2 separate regions of the Homo sapiens genome follow, and region 1 is linked to region 2. The links are contacts of gene promoters, found by promoter capture Hi-C in human tissues and cell types (Jung and others, 2019). All regions are on one chromosome and are shown on one strand. Each heading gives the region's core, a stretch centred on a gene start or on the middle of the fragment in contact. The rest is flanking DNA. Distances are from core to core; before and after follow the strand shown.

Region 1 (6,973 bases), core at 746-3,245, 500 kb after region 2:
CGTGTCTCAGCCTCCTGAGTAGCTGGGACTACAGGTGTGCACACTACACCTGGCTAATTTTTGTATTTTTAGTATAGATGGGGTTTCACTATGTTGGCCAGACTGGTCTCAAACTCCTGGCCTTTAGTGATCCGCCCACCTCGGCCTCCCAAAGTGCTGGAATTACAGGCATGAGTCACCGCACTCAGCCCTTTTTTTTGTTATTATTATTATATGTGTTATGGTGTTCTGTGATCAGTGATCTTTGATGTTACTATGATATTGTTTTGGGGCACCACGAACTACATCCATTTAAGATGGCAAACTTAATTGATAAATGTGTGTCTTCTGACTTCTCCCAGCCCTCTCCCTCTCCTCAGGCCACCCTATTCCCTGAGACACAACAATCATGAAATTAGGCCAATTAATAACTCTACAGAGGCTGGGCGCATTGGTTCTTTCCTGCAATCCCAGTACTCTGGGAGGCTGAGGGAGGTGGATCATCTGAGGTCAGGAGTTTGAGACCAGCCTGGCCAACATGGTGAAACCCTGTCTCTACTAAAAATACAAAAATTAGCTGGGCATGGTGGCATGTGCCTATAATCCCGGCTACTCAGGAGGGTGAGGCAGAAGAATCGCTTGAACCCAGGAGGCGGAGGTTGTAATGAGCTGAGATCATGCCATTGCACTCCAGCCTGGGCAACACAGTGAGACTCTGTCTCAAAAAAAAATAAAAAATAAAATAACTCTACAATAGCCTCTAAGTGTTAAGTGAAAGGAAGAATCTCACGCCTCTCACTTTAAATCAAAAGCTAGAAATGACTAAGTTTAGTAAGGAAGGCATGTCAGAAGCTGAGATAGAGCCAGGCATGGTGGTTCATCCCTGTAATCCCAGCACTTTAGGAGGCTGAGGCAGGAGGACTGTTTGAGTGCAGGAGTTTGAAACCAGCCCGAGCAACACAGCGAGACCCCATCCCTACAAAAAAAAAATGCCAGGTATGGTGCACACACCTATTGCGTGTGCTGTTGCACTCCTCAAGAGGTTGAGGCAGGAGGATTGCTTGAGCCCAGGAGTTCAAAGTTACAATGAGTTATGATCATGCCACTGCACTCCAGTCTGGGTGATGAAGCAAGACCCTGTCTCTAAAACCAAAAATAAAAAAAATTGAGATAGGCTGAAAGATAGGCCTCTTATACCAAACAGCTAAGCTGTGAATGCAAATAAAAGTCCTTGAAGGAAATTAAAAGTGCAACTCCAGTGAACATACAAATGATAAGAAAGTGAAACAGCCGGCCAGGCGTGGTGGCTCACGCCTGTAATCCCAGCGCTTTGGGAGGCCGAGGCAGGTGGATCACAAGGTCAGGAGATCGAGACCATCCTGGCTAACATGGTGAAACCCCGTCTCTACTAAAAAATACAAAAAATTAGCTGGGCGTGGTGGCGGGCGCCTATAGTCCCAGCTACTCAGGAGACTGAGGCAGGAGAATGGCGTGAACCTGGGAGGCAGAGCTTGCAGTGAGCCGAGATTGCACCACTGCACTCCAGCCTGGGCGACAGAGCAAGACTCCGTCTCAAAAAAAAAAAAAAGAAAGTGAAACAGCCTTCTTGCTGATATGTAGAAAGTTTGAGTGGTCTAGATAGGAAATCAAACCGGCCACAACCTTCTCTTAAGCCACAGCCTAATACAGAGCAAGGCCTTAACTCTCTTCAATTCTATGAAGGCTGAGAGGTGAGGAAGCTACAGAAGAAATGTTGGAAGCTAACAAAGGTTAGTTCATTGACTGGGCATGGTTGCTCATGCCTGTAATCCTAGCACTTTGGGAGACTCAGGCAGGAGGATGGCTTGAGCCCAGGGGTTGGGGCCAGCCTGGGCAACATAGGGAGACCCTGTGTCTACAAGAAATAAGCCAGGCATGGTGGCACACACCTGTAGTCCCAACTACTCAGGAGGCAGAGGTGGGAAGATCACTTGAGCCTGGGAAGTCGAGGCTACAGTGAAGCATGATCACGCTGTTGCACTCTGGCCTGTGCAACAGAGTGAGACTCTGTCTCAGTCAGTCAATCAATCAATGTTAGTTCATGAGATTTAAGGCAAGAAGCTGTCCCTGTCACATAAAAGTACAAAGTGGAGCAGCAAATGCTAATGTACAAGCTGCAGCAAGTTAACCAGAAGACCTGGCTAAGATCACTGATTAAGGCGGCTACACTAAACAATAGATTTTTAATGGAGATGAAACAGCCTTCTCTTGGAAGAATATGCCATCTAGGATTTCCTCTTTTTTTTTTTTTTTTTTTTTGAGACAGAGTCTCGCTCTGTCACCCAGGCTGGAGTACATTGGCACAGTCTTGGCTCACTGCAACCTCTGCCTCCCGGGTTCAAGCAATTCTCCTGCCTCAGCCTCCCGAATAGCTGGGATTACAGGTGCAGGCCACCATGCCCGGCTAATTTTTGTATTTTTAGTAGAGATGGGGTTTCACCACATTGGCCAGGCTGCTCTCAAACTCCTGACCTCAGGTGATCCGCCCACCTCGGCCTCCCAAAGTGTTGAGATGACAGGCGTGAGCCACCGCACCCAGCCAAACATCTAGGACTTTCATAGCTAAAGAGAAGTCAATGCCTGGCATTAAAGCTTCAAAGAACAGGCTGACTCTCTTGTTAGGGGCTCATACAGCTGGTGACTTTAAGTTGAAGCCAATGCTTATTTACCATTTTGGAAATCCTAGGGCCCTTAAGAATTATGCTAAATCTACTCTGCCTGTGCTCTATAGATGGAACAACAAACCCTGGATGACAGCATGTCTGTTTATAGCATGGTTTACTGAATACTTTAAGCCCACTTTTGAGACCTACTGCTCAGAGAAAAGGATGGCTTTCAAATTACTACTGCTCATTGACAATGCACCTGATTGAGATGTACAACGAGATTAATGTTGTGCTCTGATGGAGATGTACAAGAGCCCTGATGGAGATGTACAACGAGATTAATGTTGTTTTCCTGCCTGCTAACACAACATCCATCCTGCAGCCATGGATCAAGGAGTGACTTCACTTTTCAAGTCTTATTTTTAAAAGACATTTCATAAAGCTATAACTGCCATAGATAATGATTCCTCTGATGGATCTGGGCAAAGTAAATTTAAAACATTTTGGAAAACATTCATCATTTTAGATGACATTAAGAATATTCATGACTTGGCCAGGTGCGGTGGTTCACACCTATAATCCCAGCACTTTCGGAGGCCGAGACTGGCAGATCACTAGGTCAGGAGATTGAGACTACCCTGGCTAACACGGTAAAACCCCATCTCTACTAAAAATACAAAAAATTAGCTGGGTGTGGTGATGGGCGCCTGTAGTCCCAGCTACTCGGGAGGCTGAGGCAGAAGAATCACTTGAACACGGGAGGTGGAGGTTGCAGTGAGCTGAGATCATGCCACTGTACTCCAGCCTGTGTGACAGAGCAAGACTCTGTCTCAAAAAATAAATAAATAAATAAATAAAAAAGAATATGCATGACTCATGGGAGGAGGTCAAAATGTCAACATCAACAGGAGTTTGGGAGAAGTTGATTCCAACCCTCATGGATGATATTGACAGGTTCAAGACGTCAGTGGAGGGCCAATCACAGTGCCTCACACCTGTAATCGCAACATTTTGGGAGGCTGAGGTGGGCAGATCACTTGAGGTCAGGAGTTCAAGATCAGCCTGGCCAACATGGTGAACTCATCTCTACTGAAAATACAAAAAATAGCCAGGCATCGTGGCGCATGCCTGTAATCCAGCTACTTAGGAGGCTGAGGCAGGAAAATCACTTGAACCCAGGAGGCAGGGGTTGCAGTGAGCTGAGATCACACCACTGCACTCCAGCCTGAGCAAAAGAGCAAGACTCTGTCTCAAAAAAAAAAAAAAAAAAAAAAGGCCAGGCTGGGCATGGTGGCTCACGCCTGTAATCCAACACTTTGGGAGGCCAAGGCGGGCAGATCACCTGAGGTCATGAGTTCAAGAGCAGCCTGGACAACTTGGTGAAACCCTGTCTCTACTAAAAATATTTTTAAAATTAGCCAGGCATGGTGGCAGGCACCTGTAATCCCAGCTACTCAGGAGGCTGAGGCAGGAGAATGGCGTGAACCCGGGAGGCGGAGCTTGCAGTGAGCCGAGATGACATCACTTGCACTCCAGCCTGGGCGATAGAGTGAGACTCCATTTCAAAAAATAATAATAATAATAAATAAAAATAAAAGTAAAAAGTAGAAATACAAAAATTAGCCGAACATGGGCCGGGCGGGGTGGCTCACGCCTGTAATCCCAGCACTTTGGGAGGCTGAGGCAGGCGGATCACGAGGTCAGGCGATTGAGACCACCCTGGCTAACACAGTGAAACCCCAACTCTATTAAAAATACAAAAAATTAGCCAGCCGTGGCGGCGGGCGCCTGTAGTCCCAGATACTCAGGAGGCTGAGGCAGGAGAATGGCGTGAACCCGGGAGGCGGAGCTTGCAGTGAGCCGAGATCGCACCACTGCACTCCAGCCTGGGCGACAGAGCGAGACTCCGTCTCAAAAAAAAAAAAAAGCCGGGCATGGTGGCCGGTGCTTGTAATCCCAGCTATTCAGTAAGCTGAGGCAGGATAATTGCTTGAACCCAGAAGGTGGAGGTTGCAGTGAGCCGAGATCACACCATTGCACTCCAGGCTGGGTTACAAGAGCGAGACTCCATCTCCAAAAAAAAAAAAAGACTTCAGTGGAGGAAGTAACTGCGGATGTGGTGGAAGAAGAAAAAGAACTAGAATTCAGAAGTGTAGCCTGAAGATGTGACTGAATTGCTGCAACCTCATGATAAAACTTGAATGGATGAGGGGTTGCTTCTTACAGATGAGCAAAGAAAGTGGTTTCTTAAGACGGAAGCCACTCCTAGTGAAGATGCTGTGAACATTGTTGAAATGAGAACAACAAAGGATTAAGAATATTACGTAAGCCAGGTTTGGTGGCTCAGACCTGTAATCCCAGCACTTTGGGAGGCTGAAGCGGGCAGATCACGAGGTCAAGAAATCGAGACCATCCTGGCCAATGTGGTGAAACCCCATCTCTACTAAAAATACAAAAATTAGCTGGGCATGTCTGGGCATGGTGGCTCACACCTGTAATCCCAGCACTTTGGAAGGTCGAGGTAGGCGGATCATAAGGTCAGGAGATTGAGACCATCCTGGCTAACAAGGTGAAACCCCGTCTACTAAAAATACAAAAACAAAGATTAGCCAGGCATGGTGGCGGGCGCCTGTAGTCCCAGCTACTTGGGAGGCTGAGGCAGGAAAAATGGCATGAATCCGGGAGGTGGAGCTTGCAGTGAGCCGAGATTGCGCCACTGCACTCCAGCCCAGGCGACAGAGCAAAGACCCTCCACCAGCAAAAAGATTATGATTCGCTGAAGGGTCAGGTGATCGTTAGTATTGTTACGAAATAAAGAATTTTTAATTTTTTTAACATTTTTAGACACAATGCTATTGCATACTTAACAAACTATAGTATAGTACAAACACAACTTTTCAAAAAATGTGTGACTCACTTTATTGCGATGTTCACTTTATTATGGTGGTCAGGAGCCAAATTTGCAATATCTCTGAGATATGTTCGTTTCTTTTTTTTTTTTTCTTTTTTTTTTTTTTTTTTTGAGACGGAGTTTTGCGCTGTTGCCCCAGGCTGGAGTGCAGTGGCGCAATCTCAGCTCACTGCAACCTCTGCCTCCCAGATTCAAGCAATTCTCCCTACCTCAGCCTCCTGAGTAGCTGGGTTTACAAGCGTGTGCTACCATACCCAGCTAATTTTTCTATTTTTAGTAGAGACGGGGTTTTGCCATGTTGGCCAGACTGGTCTCGAACTCCTGACCTCCAGTGATCTGCCCACCTTGGCCTCCCAAAGTGCTGGGATCACAGGCGTGAGCCACCGCACCCGGCTGGTGTGTTCATTTTCATTTGAGTCCTTACTATGTGTTAGGCACTGTTATAAGCATTTTGTGCATGAGTTAACTCATTTAATTCTTGCATCCAAATACTCACCAGGCCTGACCCTGCTTAGTTTCCAAGATCAGAAGAGACTAGGCACATTCAGGGTGGTATAGGAGTAGTCCATTTAATTCTCATAACTCGTTGAGGTAGAAAATATCAATTCTCCCCTTTTTAGAAATGAGGAAACTGAGGCACAGGGAAATGGAGGGATTTGCATGAAGTCACACAGCTAGTAAGTGGCCAATTCAGGATTCCAACCCAGCCTGTCTGATTCCACAGCCCTTGTCATCCCCATCCCCATCCTGAGATACCCCCCAGTTGGGTCGCTTGCTGCTCTTCAGAAGTGTTTCCCCCTAGAGGTGTGGGTGACTATTGTCCTGTGGTTCCTATTGTCATTTAAACTATTGTTTACTTAACAATCCAGTTCATGCCAGAACTGTGGAGTCTAACACTTTAACACTTACTGTGTCCTTGGGTTTAACTCTCTGAGCCCCTGTTTCTTCATCTGTAAAATGGGGATAAAAATAATAGGCTGGCTGTGAAGATTAAAATGAGATAAGGCATGGCAAGAGCTGAGTACGGTGCCTGACACATGATAAGCAGTGTCACATTTCATGAGTTAGTTGTTATTGTTGTCATTATCATTGCCATCATCATCATTAGATCCCTCTCATTCTCAGGAACACCCAACAAGGGAAGAGAAAGAAGTGGGGCGCTGAGTCTGTGCCTTGGGCCTGGCCCCCGATGGCCTAGAGCCTAGAACCTGAATTGGGTCATAGAATCCAAGGACATGCTCTTCTCTACCAGAGATGCTCAAGGGAAGGAAATGGGATCAGCACCACCAGCTATGGGCCAAGCATTATATCCAGTCCCTAAATACCAGAATCCCAAAAGTAACAGTTGAGATGTAAGTATGGCTAGTATTTTCAAGGATATTTGGGAGAAGATTCCCAACCTGCCCCCATTCAAGATTGCTACAAAAATCAAGAGACA
Region 2 (6,780 bases), core at 3,491-5,990:
GGCAGAGAGAGGCTGAAATTCCTCAGACTCGGTGGGCATTAGAGTCAGGGCAGGCTGCTCTATGCTCTCAGCCATCAGGCTCGCTGCCTTGCTGGGAGGTCGCCATGGTGAGGAGCCATGGCTGTGCTGGAGAGGGATGAGTGAGTCAACTGGCCTTGGTGCGGCCCCTTCGTCCATTGTACTGCAACTTGTGTGTGGTCTTTGTGAAGTCACTTCCCCTGTGTGGAGCAGCTGACAGGGGGTGTTGAGGATGGATAAAGGTGTTGGAAAAGGGGTGGCTTGTCCCTTTTTAGCAGAGCTAATGCCCTGGGCTGCACTGGAGCCAGAGAATTAGCTGTGTGACCTTGGGCAAGTTGTTTGACCTCCCTGAGCCTTGGTTTCCTCACCTGTGTATAGAGGCTGCTGCATTCTACCTGCGAGGGTGTTTCAGGATTGAAGAATGCAACGTGTGAAAAAGACTGGAGTTTAGCAGGTGCTCAGAAAACGTTACTCACCTTCTCCCCACTGACCTAGTTGGTCAACTGGTATTTGTTGAGCTCCTTCTAGGATCACATGGCCCATGCTCTGTGTCACATATGTGTCCCTCCATCATAGGATTTAATGATACTAGTGATATTACTCCAATATTGGAGTCATGTGTGTGCTTGTCTGTCTTTGCCACTGGTTTGAGCTCCTGAGAGCAAACCCTAACTCGTGTTAGGCATGTTTTATGGAGAATTTATTCTGGGCTGGTACTGAGGGGTCAAAGTGAATGCACCCCCAACATGGAGCGTGGAGAAGACCCTCCCATGCGATTCCTCCCCCAGGTTCAGCTCCATGGGCCGCAAAGACAGGAGAAAGTGCCATGAAAAGGGGCCACCAGGTTGATGGGATCATCAGGGAGGTTCTGTGGGGGAATGACTATCCCCCTTTCCCTATTCTAAGCACATCCCATTCCCCTGAGGGTGGGGTGCACTTTGACGTCCTGGTTCTGGAAGCATCAGGGCTGGGAAGCAGGGAAGAGGGTGGGTAGAGCCAGAGTCTGGGAGTTCTCCTCGCTCTTTTCTCCCTCCATTTTCCTCAAACCCTGTCTCTTCTAACCCAAGCCCTCTGGGATTATCTTAGAAATGGTAATGGAAGCTCCCTCACCCCCTCGGGCTATGATTACAGGTGTGTGTGTGTGTGTGTGTGTGTGTGTGTGTGTGTGTGTGTCTTTATTCAAAGAGACTGTGAGGGGGGCTGCGGGGGCGGGGTTAAACAGTGGAGCCCCTTTCAGATGAAGAGGGTTCCGAGGGAAGGGTGGAAAGCAGTCCTGAGAGGGGAGAGCTGAACACCTTCTGTTTCAGCCCCTGATCCCTATCTGTGAAGCTGGCGGATCAGGATGACTATTCCCATCTGAGCTGGGTGGAAGCCAGGGCCTCCACAGAGAGATTGAGTCAGAAGTTCTCAACCCGGGGTGATTACGGCCCCCAGGGAACAGGTGGCAACGTCTAGAGGCAGTGTTGGTTGTCATAACTGGGGCAGGTCTCAGGGGAGCTACTGGCATCTAGTAAGTAGAGGCCAGGGATGCTGCTGGGCGCCCCTCAGTGTAGAGGAAAGTCTCCACAATAAAGAATTTTCCAGTTCAAAATGTCAAGAGAGCTGGGGTTGACAAACCTGGGTTGAGCGAATCATCTAAGGTCATTCACACGATAAGGCAAACCACTCCATGCCCTTGCACCGTGCAGTCACTCCAGGCAGCCTCTACCCTGGCTGCTCCGAGGACTGAGGGTGTTGAGCTCTCCTGGGGGCCTGGAAGGACCAGGGAAGATGCTGTTGTTTGAGAAGACTGAAAGAACATCAGAGGGCAGGCCAAGGCAATTCAGGTTCCATCTTAACTCCCTTGTCTCATTTCCCCAGAGCCCTCTGTCCCCTAGTCACCATCCAGCCCAACAAGTCATTTCTCACTGTCTGGCCCCCAAACCCTGCTTCGAAGCTGCATACCCAGTCCCCAGGGTGTGAGGTCATTACTCAGCTCTGACTTGCAGGAAGGACTGACACACCTATCCACACCACCACAGTTGTCATGGAAAATGTCTTTAAGTTGGGCACTGTGGCTCACGCCTGTAATCCCAGCACTTTGAGAGGCTGAGGTGGGCGGATCACCTGAAGTCAGGAGTTCAAGACCCGCCTGGCCAACATGGTGAAACCCCGTCTCTACTAAGAACACAAAAATGAGTTGGGTGTGGTAGCACATGCCTGTAGTCCCAGCTATTCAGGAGGCTGAGGCAGGAGAATCGCTTGAACCCGGGAGGTGGAGGTTGCAGTGAGCCAAGGTTGGGCCACTGCACTCCAGCCTGGGCAATAGAGTGAGACTCCACCTCAAAACAAACAAACAAACAAAAACACCAAAAAAAAAAAAAACCCAAAAGAAAATATCCCCTTAGAGAGGGCAAAAGATCCAAGCTGTCACATGGGCTAGGAGCGTGAGAAGGCTGAGACAGACAGACCAAGGCTGCCTGTGGGAAGCACAGACAGATGGCCAGAGCAACACAGTAGCTCCCCTTAACCCTAGGGGTACGTTCCAACACCCCCAGTGGACACCTGAAACTGCGGGTGGTACCAAACCCTGTATATATCAATACTATGTCTTTCCTTTATGTACATACCTATGATAAAGTTTAGTTTATAAATTAGGCACAGTAAGCAGTTAACCATAATAAGTAATAAAATATAACAAATACAACAATACAATAACAGTAATGTGAATGTGGTCTCTCTGTCTCAAAATATCCTGATGTTTTCAGACTGCAGTTGACAGCGGGTAACTGAAACTGCGTGGAAAGCAGGGGCTGCTGCATGTTAAAAGGCATGAATGGACAGGAAGCTTTCTGCTGCAGCTGCACATCCTGTCTCCTCCATCAGACTGAGAACCTACAGATCATTTTGTTGTTGTTGTTGTTGTTGTTTTTTGAGGTTTTTTTTGAGGCGGAGTCTCACTCTGTCGCCCAGGCTGGAGTGCAGTGGAGCGATCTTGGCTCACTGCAAGCTCCACCTTCTGGGTTCACGCTATTCTCCTGCCTCAGCCTCCCGAGTAGCTGGGACTACAGGCGCCCGCCACCACGCCTGGCTTATTTTTTGTATTTTTAGTAGAGACAGGGTTTCACCGCGTTAGCCAAGATGGTCCCGATCTCCTGACTTCGTGATCTGCCCGCCACGGCCTCCCAAAGTGCTGGGATTACAGGCGTGAGCCACTGCGCCCGGCCAGATCGTTTTTAACTAAATCAGTTTTATTTTATTGACAAAAAAAGTATATATCTGTTGTATACGACATGGTGTTTTGAAATATGTATTCACTGTGGAATGGCTCAGTTGAGCTAATTAATATCTGCATTACTGCACATACTTGTTATTTGTTTGTGGTGAGAACACTTAAAATCTACTGTCAGTGATTTTCTTTTTTTTTTGAGATGGAGTCTCGCTGTGTCGCCCAGGCTTGGGGTGCGGTGGCACGATCTCGGCTCACTGCAACCTCCACTTGCTGGGTTCAAGAGATTCTCCTGCCTCAGCCTCCCGAGTAGCTGGGATTACAGGCGCCCGCCACCACGCATGGCTAATTTTTGTATTTTAGTAGAGACACGGTTTCACTATGTTGGCCAGGCTGGTCTCGAACTCCTGACCTCAGATGATCCACCTGCCTTGGCCTCCCAGAGTGCTAGGATTACAGGCGTGAACCACTGTGCCTGGCCTCTCTCAGTGATTTTCTAAATGCAATACATTGTTATTAGGGGACTATAGATTTAAGGACAGTTTGATTTCCGGCACTGGGAAAAAACTAAGATGTTGTGTCAGGGAACTTTAAAAAAAAATAAATACTAATAAGTAATAATAATAAATAAATAAATTATATTTTGAGATGAGGTCTTGCTATGCTGACCAGGCTGGTCTTGAACTCCTGGGCTCAGGGCACTTCTGAAGAACAAGGACTGGGTTTGGGGTCACCAGCTAGGCCTAAACTTCCTAGGGTCAGGTAAACAGGGAGGGCCTGAGAAGCTGGGAGGCTGGGTCTAGGGGCCCATGGTCTCACGGTGCCCCAGGCTGAGGGTGAGGTACAGGGCTGACCTTCTGCTGGCCAAGGCTGGCTGCCCTCTGTGCACCCTAGCCCCACAGGAACAACTCAGTTCTGCCCAGCCCTCCCCTTCCCCCCAGCCCACTCTCCCCCATCTCCTGGAGTCTGGTCCCAGGCTTGCCTCAGGTAGTCCTGCCCCTGCCACCCTGAGGATCTCATCTTCCTGGGCTGAGGGACCTGCTTTTCTAGGCTTAGGAGAGGTTCTCTCTGTTCCCTAAAGTTTTCTTCTCTACGTGGGCTTTTTCACACAAACCCTTTTCCCCAGCAGCCATGACAGTGGGATGGCCGGCCCCTCTCCTCTCCCCAACTCCAACTGTCAGTGGAGAGGAGAAAGAGTTCCTGCCCGGCCTACCACCCAGTCTGACCACCAGTGGCCTATCCTTCCCCAAACAGTCTGAGAACGAGGCCCAGGTCCTGTCCTTAGGGAGCATCCAGTCTGATGGAAGAGTCACTCTCTGTACCCTCAAGGGGCATCCAGTCTGATGGAAGAGTCACTCTCTGTACCCTCAAGGGGCACCCAGTCTGATGCGGGACACAGCTCCTCCCCTGGGGGGAGGCTCTAGCCTGCAGGAGGTACAGGAGTGGGGCAAGGCCCCATGAGTGCCTACCTGGGGAGTACAGCATGCTGGTGGCTAGCTCGGTGCTTGACAGTTGAAGGTTCTGGTGGGAGGGGGAGAAGAGACCCTCCCCCCAGAACTCTCTCATTGCAGTGGGATTCCTAGGTCAGCAGCCGGTTTAACAGCTGCCTTCCCTTTTCTCCTTCTCAGTAACCCAGCCCCTTACCCAGCTGAGGGCTACCCGCTTTAGGGACAGATGACCCAGCACCCCTGCCTTGCACAGCCTCCACCAGCCTGGCTGTCCTCACTGTATCACGGTCATCCCATCAGGGTAGGTCCCAGTCCCTTTTTTTCAGCCCAAGGTTTCCAGGAAGGGGTTGTCCCTGACACACCAACCTGACCTTTACATCCAGAAAGCCTTCTCATTCCCAAAAGCCCCTTTCTCACTGACATGGCATTTTTCCTGTGTTGCTGTCTTCACATGGCACCCTCCTCTGTGTCTCTTCTTCTTATAAGGACACCAGTCATATGGGGCTAGGGTCCCATGCATTTCAGTATGACCTCATCTTAATTGAACGAATTACATCTGCAACCACCCTGTTTCCAAATGAGGTCACATTCTGAAGTACTGGGGGCCAGGACTTCAACATGCCTTTTTGGGGGACACGATTCCACCTGCAACACTCTCCTTGCCTAGCCCCAGTCTGGCAAGGTTAGGCCACTGGTCTGACCACATGTCCTGCCTCTGCACTGGAAAGTGGGAATGCTTTGAGCTAAGAACTCTGCTCCAGAGTGCAGTCTTCTCTGGAGTGTATGATGGCTGAGGACAGGGACTGTCAAGGTCATCCCAGTGCCCCTCAGCCCTGCCTGGTGCTAATCAGGCACAGAACAGGTGTGAGAGCACCCAATGGGATCAGAGAACCTTGTTCCAAGCTCTGAAACAGGAGCTGACCTTGGGCGAGCCCTCCCCCTTTCTCCTTTCTGGGACTCAATCTCCTCATCTACGAGAATATTAATTATGGTTTGTTATTATGTGCCAAACACTGGGCTAAGAACTTCCTACTTATTTAATCCTTAAAACAGCCAGAGGCCATGACATTGCTATTCCCATTTTATAGATGAGGAAAGTGAGGTCTAGAGGTATGATGCAACTTGCCCAGGGTCACACAGCTGTTAAGCGGTCGAGCCAGGATTTAAACTAATAACTTCAGATTTTTTTTTTTTTTTTTTTTTTTGAGATGGAGTCTCGCTCTTTTGCCCAGGCTGGAGTGAAGTGGTGCAATCTCAGCTCACTGCAACCTCTGCCCCCCGGGTTCAAGCGATTCTCCTGCCTCAGCCTCTCAAGTAGCTGGGATTACAGGTGCCCACCACCATGCCCAGCTAATTTTTGTATTTTTAGTAGAGACGGGGTTTCGCCATGTTGGGCAGGCTGGTCTCGAACTCCTGACCTCAGGTGATCACTCGCTTCGGCCTCCCAAAGCGCTAGGATTATAGGCATAAGCCACCGTGCCCGGCCATAACTTTAGCTCTTATCCGTATCTTCTGCTGCCCCCAGCTGTGAAAGGAGGAAGTGGTCTTTGGGGATCCTGTGGTCTCCCCTGCCCACTCCTGATTCCACTATTGCACCTCTTGGATGCCTCTAATGTGATCTGCCTGGACATGAACTCTGTGACGAGGTGCCAGGGGTAGGGTGCAGGCAGGCACGGGTGTTCCTCTCTATTACAGCCTCCCACCCTGGGGGAGGGCTGTCCTCAGGACTCTTGCTCAGTGTGCTGCTTGGGCATTATCTGGAGTTTCACATTTGGAAATGCTGGAACCTGGCTTTGAACTTCAGGCCCTGCAGGAAAGGGAAGGCATGCTGGGCAGATGAGGAATGAGAGGGTCTCGGCTAACCAGAGGTGGGGGCTGAGGTCTGTCCAGGCCATGCTTTGCAGACAAGGGGGCTTGCCAGGCAAATGGCGGTGGTGTGCCTGCCCATCCATACGGAAAACAGGCTTCGGGAGCACCGAGAAGCCTTCACACAACCAAGGTGCTCCTTTCAAAGCCATGCCAATATTTGTCCAACCACCAGCAGGCACTCCCTTGGCCCCAAGACTTTGGGGACTCTACCTGGGAGCTCATGTTTCACAACTGCAG

Evidence for each region. The method cuts DNA at HindIII sites, captures the fragments that hold promoters and counts their contacts. A contact is called where the count stands out against the background at its distance.
Region 1: a contact is called between a fragment that was not itself captured here and the fragment with the promoter of CAPN11 in region 2, in 2 of the 25 tissues and cell types used here (bladder and spleen).

What each region holds. Positions count from the first base shown.
Region 1 is chr6:43,656,965-43,663,937 of GRCh38, reverse strand. The region is part of intron 4 of RSPH9 (radial spoke head component 9); the gene reads right to left. Among named protein-coding and RNA genes, the nearest start is that of RSPH9, 15 kb to the right of the region's middle. RefSeq lists an enhancer at 1,723-1,912. The HindIII fragment of the contact is 8,446 bases long and covers 1-6,218 here.
Region 2 is chr6:44,156,780-44,163,559 of GRCh38, reverse strand. It overlaps CAPN11 (calpain 11), which reads right to left and starts at 4,740. Exons shown (of 23, transcript NM_007058.4): 1 at 4,696-4,740. The coding sequence starts at 4,711. It overlaps LOC107986599 (a long non-coding RNA gene), which reads left to right and starts at 4,957. Exons shown (of 3, transcript XR_002956350.2): 1 at 4,957-4,975. RefSeq lists a silencer at 1,921-2,010 and an enhancer at 3,394-3,563. The HindIII fragment of the contact is 19,752 bases long and covers 1-6,780 here.